Linked DNA regions of Homo sapiens: region 2 is linked to region 1. The links are contacts of gene promoters, found by promoter capture Hi-C in human tissues and cell types (Jung and others, 2019). All regions are on one chromosome and are shown on one strand. Each heading gives the region's core, a stretch centred on a gene start or on the middle of the fragment in contact. The rest is flanking DNA. Distances are from core to core; before and after follow the strand shown.

Evidence for each region. The method cuts DNA at HindIII sites, captures the fragments that hold promoters and counts their contacts. A contact is called where the count stands out against the background at its distance.
Region 2: a fragment that was not itself captured here is called in contact with the fragment with the promoter of PLA2G1B in region 1 in 2 of the 25 tissues and cell types used here (IMR-90 fibroblasts and liver).

Annotation. Positions count from the first base shown.
Region 1 is chr12:120,325,503-120,329,226 of GRCh38, forward strand. PLA2G1B (phospholipase A2 group IB) reads right to left here and starts at 2,277. Exons shown (of 4, transcript NM_000928.3): 1 at 2,218-2,277; 2 at 359-518. The coding sequence starts at 2,251. RefSeq lists an enhancer at 174-233. The HindIII fragment of the contact is 11,861 bases long and covers 1-3,724 here.
Region 2 is chr12:120,414,113-120,417,823 of GRCh38, forward strand. No RefSeq gene overlaps it. Among named protein-coding and RNA genes, the nearest start is that of COX6A1, 22 kb to the right of the region's middle. The HindIII fragment of the contact is 7,166 bases long and covers 1-3,711 here.

The sequences.
Region 1 (3,724 bases), core at 1,027-3,526:
AAGCGATTTTTAACATGGTTGCAAGAATACAGTAAAATCCTGTATTCAGAAGGTGCAGTGACAACCACTGCTAGAAAATGACACGTGGATAGTTGCTGTGATGTTTACTGTTGCTACATTCTGCCACTGGAGGGCAGCATCGCCCACTGTTTTGCACGTCGGTCATTGTTTCCATCTCTAACGGGGTGCGTTCGCTACAGGGTCCTCTTGGAACATATTTGTTTATTTGACAAGAGGTGAAAATATGTTATCCTTAGCAGATATGCAAGTCCCCTTTGTATGCCTCGTGAGATCCTTGGCGTGTGCCCCACCCCGCCCCCGGCAGGCACTCCAATTTTCCTGCAGGCGGATCACTTACTTGTCCAGTTCATCCACGGGGGTGCCTGAGCCCCCCAAGCCACAGTAGCAGCCGTAGTTGTTGTATTCCAAGAAGGGGTCACTCCCCGGGATCACGCACTTGATCATTTTGCGGAACTGCCACACGGCCCGAGGGCTGATGCCGCTGTCGGCGGCGGCCACTGCAAGAAGACATAGCCAGAGTTCAAATCGGTCTGCCAGCACCCCGGGGACACACTGCCTTCCTGCTCCCTCGGGTCCCACGCTGCCTCCCTGACCCCTGCCAGCTGCCTCCTCTGAAGACCGTTGGACCCAGGAACCTGGTAAAGTGAAAGTGGGTAGAGGTTTTTTTTTTTTTTTAATGAAAACTTTATATATATAAAGTTTATATCTTTGTGTGTGTGTATATATATATATATCTTCTTCTTTTTCTTCTTCTTCTTCTTCTGGGACCCTACCGCCTCAGCTAGGATTACAGGCATGTGCCACCCAGCTAGGCCTGATAGTTTTTTTTTTTTTTTTGAGATGGAGTCTTGCTCTGTTGCCCAGGTTGGAGTGCAGTGACACGATTTCAGCTCACTGCAAACTCTGCTTCCCGGGTTCACGCCATTCTCCTGCCTCAGCCTCCCTAGGTCAGATAGTTTTAAACTATCTGCACTGTTTATCCAGTGAATATTTATTGAGCACTTACTATGTGCCAGGCTCTGTCCTAGGAGCTAGAGATACAGCAGTGAACAGATATAATAATAATAATAATAATAATAATAATAATAATAATAATAATAATCTCTAACCTCATGGAGCTTACAACCTAGTGGGAGAGAAAAACAATAAATAATAAATGTGATAAGGCCGGGCACGGTGGCTCATGCCTGTAATCCCAGCACTTTGGGAGGCCGAGGCAGGCGGATCACAAGGTCATGAGATCGAGACCATCCTGGCTAACACGATGAAACCCCGTCTTTATTAAAAATACAAAAAAATTAGCGGGGCGTGGTGGCAGGCGCCTTTAGTCCCAGCTACTGGGGAGGCTGAGGCGGGAGAATGGCGTGAACCCAGCAGGTGGAGCTTGCAGTGAGCCGAGATCGCACCACTGTACTCCAGCCTTGGCGACAAAGCAAGACTCTGTCTCAATAATAATAAGAATAATAATAAATGTGATAAGTAAGGAAACTGGATACTGCATTAGAAAGGGGAAGAATAGAGCAGGATGAGGAGAATCTAAAAGGGAGGTCACCCAGCCTGGCCAACATGGTGAAAACCTGTCTCTACCAAAAAAAACACACAAAAAATTAGCTGGGCATGGTGGTGTGTGCCAGCTACTTGAGAGCTACAAGTCCCAGCTACTTGAGAGGCTGAGGCAAGAGAATTATTTGAACCCAGGAGATGGAGGTTGTAGTGATCTGAGATCACGCCACCGCACTCCAGCCTGGGCGACAGAGTGAGCCCCGTCTCAAAAATAAAATAAAGTAAAATAAAAATAAAAATTAAAATAAAATAAAATAAATGGGAGATTGGCCTAACTACTTAGTTGAGTAAGGTGGGAGGATCACTTGAGCCCACGAGTTGGAAGCTGTGGTGAGCTATGATCATGCCACTGAACTCCAGCCTGGGTGATAGAGCAAGACCCTGTCTGGAAAAAAGAAAATAAAGGCAAGCTTTCTTAGCTCAGGCAATCTGAGTTCAGACTTGCAGGTTGAAAAAGTGCCAGCCTTGAGGGAACCCCAATAGAGGAGCCCTTAAGCCCCACTGGGAACCTCGAATTGAGACTGCGGGGCTGGCCATCCCTGTTTGCTGTGGCCTGTGGCCCCCATTCCAGAGGAGTGAGATCTTAGCTCACTTGGGAGAGAAAGGCGGGTGGAGCCGGGGAGACTTGCCTACCTGTGAGCAGCACAGCTAGCACAAGGAGTTTCATCTTGCAGTCAAGGTGAGAAAAGAACTGAGATGACCAGTCTCAGGTATAGTCTTATAGTCAGTCTCCACACAACCCTGCCCAGATAAGGCTGGAGTGTTTGCTTTGCTCTTGGCTGAGTTTGGGGCTGGCCTTGAATCTGTCTGTTGCAGGAATGACCCTGACGATTTGCCAGCATGGGATCACTGGAAAATATGTTATGCATTTGTCCTTAGCAACTGTTAACCAAAGGGATGGTTTCTGGAGTTTTCAGATCTTACAATCTTGACCCTCATACCCACCACTTTGTACTCAGCCCAGCTTCACGGGCTGGTTGGGGAAAGCAAAGCCGTCAGTTCAGTCGGACGCTGGGATAAGGGAGACAAGAAGGAAGTGCAGCCTGGGCAACATAGAGAGACCTCATCTCTAAAAAAAAAAATGTTAACCAGGTGTGGTGGTGGATTGCACCTGTGATCCCAGCAACTCAGGAGGCTGAGATGGGAGGATCTCTTGAGCCAGGGAGGTCAAGGCTGCAATGAACAGTGATTGAGCCTCTGCAGCAGAGTGAGACCCTATTTCAAAAAAAAAAAAAAAAAAAGAAAGAAAGAAAAAAGATCGCTGCCTGCAGCCTCAATGTCTTATCAAGTGCCTGAATCTGTGCACTGGGTCTGGTTGAATAGTCCCATCAGTCGTGCACCTTGCAGATAAAGAGACAGGTTCAGAGAGTTGCGGTAACTTGCCCAAGGTCACACAGTTGGCAAATGACAAAATAGGGCTCCAGTTTAGATCTGTCTGATTCCAAGGCAGAGGTTTTATTTTTTTCCACCACTCCGCTCTGCAGTGTGGGTTTGTGAGAAAAACCTGGGCTTTGGATTCCAAAGGCCTGAGTCTGAATTATAGAATACTAAAGGGCATTAGAACTGTCATATCAGAGGCCAGGCACGGTGGCTCATGCCTGTAATCCCAGCACTTTGGGAGGCTGAGGCTGGCAGATCACCTGAGGTGGAGAGTTCGAGACCAGCCTGACCAACATGGAATAACCCTGTCTCTACTAAAAACACAAAATTAGCCAGGCATGGTGGCTTATGCCTGTAATCCCAGCTACTCCGGAGGCCGAGGCAGGAGAATGGCTTGAACCCTGGAGGCGGAGGTTGCGGTGAGCTGAGATCACGCCATTGCACTCCAGCCTAGGGAACAAGAGCAAAACTCCATCTCAAAAAAAAACCTGTCACATCACATATCTATTTATTTATATATATTTTTTGAGACGGAGTCTTGCTCTGTTGCCTAGGCTGGAGTGCAATGGCGCGATCTTGGCTCACTGCAAGCTCTGCCTCCCAGGTTCATGCCATTCTCCTGCCTCAGCCTCCCAAGTAGCTGGGACTACAGGCACCCACCACCACGCCCGGTTAATTTTTTTTTTTGTATTTTTAGTAGAGATGGGGTTTCACCGCATTAGCCAGGATGGTCTCGATCTCCTGACCTCGTGATCCACCT
Region 2 (3,711 bases), core at 849-3,348, 88 kb after region 1:
TCCTTCCCGCCCGCTTTCTCTAGGAGTAATTAAGAGTGAAATCCTCCTCCTGGTGACCCCGTGCTCCAGGCCCGGGCTGATTTACACATGAAAGGTCTACGGAGGGCCTGGGCTTTCTCCTTTTCACATTCACAATGAGGCACAGCCTATAAATAAAACCTCTCTGGGAAACAAGAGGCTTCAAAATGTGTGTGTGTGTGTGTGTGTGTGTCTGTCCCCCAGAGGGAGTGTGTGTGTGTGTGTGTCCCTGTGTGTGTCCCAGAGTGTGTGTGTGTGTCCCAGAGGGAGTGTGTTTGTGTGTGTGTCTGTGAGAGGGAGAGACAGACCCAGAAGGAGAGAGACCAGAGGGAGAGGGGGAGTTTGAAAGGGCTAGAAAAGGGAAGGAGTGTGAATAAAAGCTGGTGTTAATTGAGCGCTTACTGTGTGCCAGGCAACCATCCTCACAGCAATCCTGTAAGGGTGGTTTTATGGTTCCCATTTTAAAGATGAAGAAACTGAGGTTCAAAGAGGGCAAGAGTTGCCCAAGATAACACAGTGAATTAAGGGGAAGGCTTGGACTCAGGAAGTGGGATGAACATAAGATTCAAATGATGGGCCGGGCGCGGTGGCTTACACCTATAATCCCAGCACTTTGGGAGGCTGAGGTGGGTGGATCACCTGAGGTCAGGAGTTCAAGACCAGTCTGTCCAACATGGTGAAACCCTGTCTCCACTAAAAATACAAAAATTAGCTGAGCGTGGTGGTGCGTGCCTGTGGTCCCTGCTACTCCGGAGGCTGAGGCAGGATAATTGCTTGAACCTGGGAAGCAGAGGTTGCAGTGAGCCAAGATCACGCCACTGCACTCCAGCCTCGGTAAAAGGGCAAGGTTCCGACTCAAAAAAAAAAAAAAAGATTCAAATGATGACCTGTGTCTTTGTGTCTTGATTGTGATGATGATTACAGGACTATGCATTTGCCACATATGTACTAAAAAGGGAGAATTTTACTGTATGTATACTGCAATAACCATGACTTTTATCATTTTTAATTTTATTTATGTATTTATTTTTGAGAAAGAGTCTCGCTCTGTTGCCCAGGCTAGACTACAGTGGCACGGTCTGAGCTCACTACAACCTCCACCTCCCAGGTTCAAGCAATTCTCCTACCTCAGCCTCCTGAGTAGCTGGGACTACAGGTGTGCACCACCATGCCCAGCTAATTTTTGTATTTTTTAGTAGAGATGGGGTTTTGCCATATTGGGCAGGCTGGTCTCAATCTCCTGACCTCAGGTGATTCACCTGCCTCGGCCTCCCAGAGTACTGGGATTACAGGTGTGAGCCACCGTGCCCGGCCAATCCTGACTTTTAAAAAGGTAAAATAAAATAGGCCAGGTGTGGTGGCTCACGTCTGTAATCCCAGCACTTTGGAAGCCGAGGTGGGAGGAGCTCTTGATCTCAGGAGTTCAAGACCAGCCTGGGCAACATGGCAAGATCCTATCTCTACCAAAAAAAAAAAAAAAATTAACTGGGCACAGTGGCACATGCCTGTAGTCCTTGCTAGTGGGGAGGCTGAGATGGGAGGATTGCTTGAGGCTAGGGAATTGAGGCTGCAGTGAGTTATATTTCCACCACTGCACTCCAGCCTGGACAACGGAGTGAGACCATGTCTCAAAATTTACAAAATAATAATAATAAAATAAAATACATACAAAAAAACAGAGGCCAATGGGCAGTGATTGGTGAGGTATCCTGGATACTTGAGGCCTCTCTATACCATTCCCTCTAGCAGGCCTGTTAACCTTATTCACCTCTGTATCCCCAGGCTCAGGGCTCAATAATGGGGAATGTAGATATTAGGGAAATGTTTGCTCAATTGATTGAATACATGGGCTAAGTCATTCTCTCTGGACTCATTTTGCCATCTATAAAATGAGAAAATGATGAAACACTATGGCAAACACCTCCTAATCAGCCTCAGAGGTCACCACCTGCAGGAAGTCTTCATGGATTCCCTTCCACCCGCAGATTGATCAAGGGCCTCTTCTGGCCTCTTACAGAGCCAGGTTGTGTTCCCATCCCTGCACTGACTATAGTGTACAATATTTGTCTGGTTCTGCTCTGTGGAGGCACCTGTGCCTCTGCCTTGGCCCGGGTTCAGCAAAAATCAAGGCTAGGCCTAGAAAGTGATGGGAAATACTCCACGTGAATATTCAGGTTCTTTGCAGTAGGGCCAATGTCCATTTTGCTCCTCTCTGTACCCCAAGTACCTATCCCATAGCATGTAGAATGTTTGAGAAATTAATGAATTAATGCATTTATGAGCTCTGGTCTCAGGTTCAAATGTGAATCATGGCTGGGCGCGGTGGCTCACACCTGTAATCCCAGCACTTTGGGAGACCGAGGAGGGTGCATCACCTGAGGTCAGGAGTTGGAGACCAGCCTGGACAACATGGCGAAACCCTGTCTCTACTAAAAGTACCAAAATTAGCCAGGTGTGGTGGTGCACTCCTGTAGTCCCAGCTATTTGGGAGGCTGAGGTAGGAGAATTGCTTGAATCTGGGAGGCAGAGGTTGCAGTGAGCCGAGATTACGTCACTGCACTCCAGCCTGGGCAACGAGAGGGAAACTCCATCTCAAAAAAACAGAAAGTGAATCATGCTGGTGTTGGCTGGGGCTGGGCAAGGGTCTCAGGCAGCAGAAACCGGCCAATGGAGAAATCCCTGTGCAGTAAAGATGAGCTGAAAGGCCTGACTTCTAGAGCCCCAAGAAAACAATCAGAGGGGCAGATGGTTTGGGGAAGGGGGGAGGCTCTGGTGAGTGGGCAATCTGCCTGCATCTGTTTGAGGCTGAGAGTGAGGTGGGGCACATGGATATGGTTAGGTCCCAGCTCTGCTACTTCTTAGCTATCATTCAGCCCCACCAACCCTCAGTCTCCATATCTGTGAAATGGGCAGGGAATATAATGATACCTGCTTCTACTTTAACATGTTTATTCGGAGGGTGAAGGTACATAATAAGGTCAAAGTGCCTAGTCAGAAATAGTTTGTAATTTATTTATTTAGAGACTGAGTCTCATTCTGTTGCCCAGGCTGGAGTGCAGTGGTGCGATCTCTGCTCACTGCAGACTCCACCTCCTGGGTTCAAGTGATTCTCCTGTCTCAGCCTCCCGAGTAGCTGGGATTACAGGTGCCCACCACCACACCCGGGTAATTTTTATATTTTTAGTAGAGACGGGGTTTCACAATGTTGGCCAGGCTGGACTTGAACTCCTGACCTCAAGTGATTCGCCCACCTCAGCCTCCCAAAGTACTGGGATTATAGGTACTTATTTATTTTTATAGAGATGGGGTCCTACTATGTTGCCCAGGCTGGTCTTGAACTCCTGGACTCAAGCAATCCTCCTGCCTCAGGCCTCCCAGAGTGCTGTGATTACAGGCATGAGCCACTGTTCCCCACCAGAAATATTTTAAACTCCATAACATCTTTTCCTCTTTTCTCCCAAATGTTTTTCTTTCTTCCTTTTTTTTTTCCTTTGAGACAAAGTCTCACTCAGTTGCCCAAGCTGGAGTACAGTGGCACAATCACGGCTCACTACGGCTTCAATCTCCTGAGCTCAAGCCATCCTCCCAGCTCAGCCTCCTGAGTAGCTGGAACTACAGGCACATACTACCACATGCAGCTAATTTAAAATTTTTTGTGGAGACAGGAGTTTCACTATATTCCCCAGACTGGTC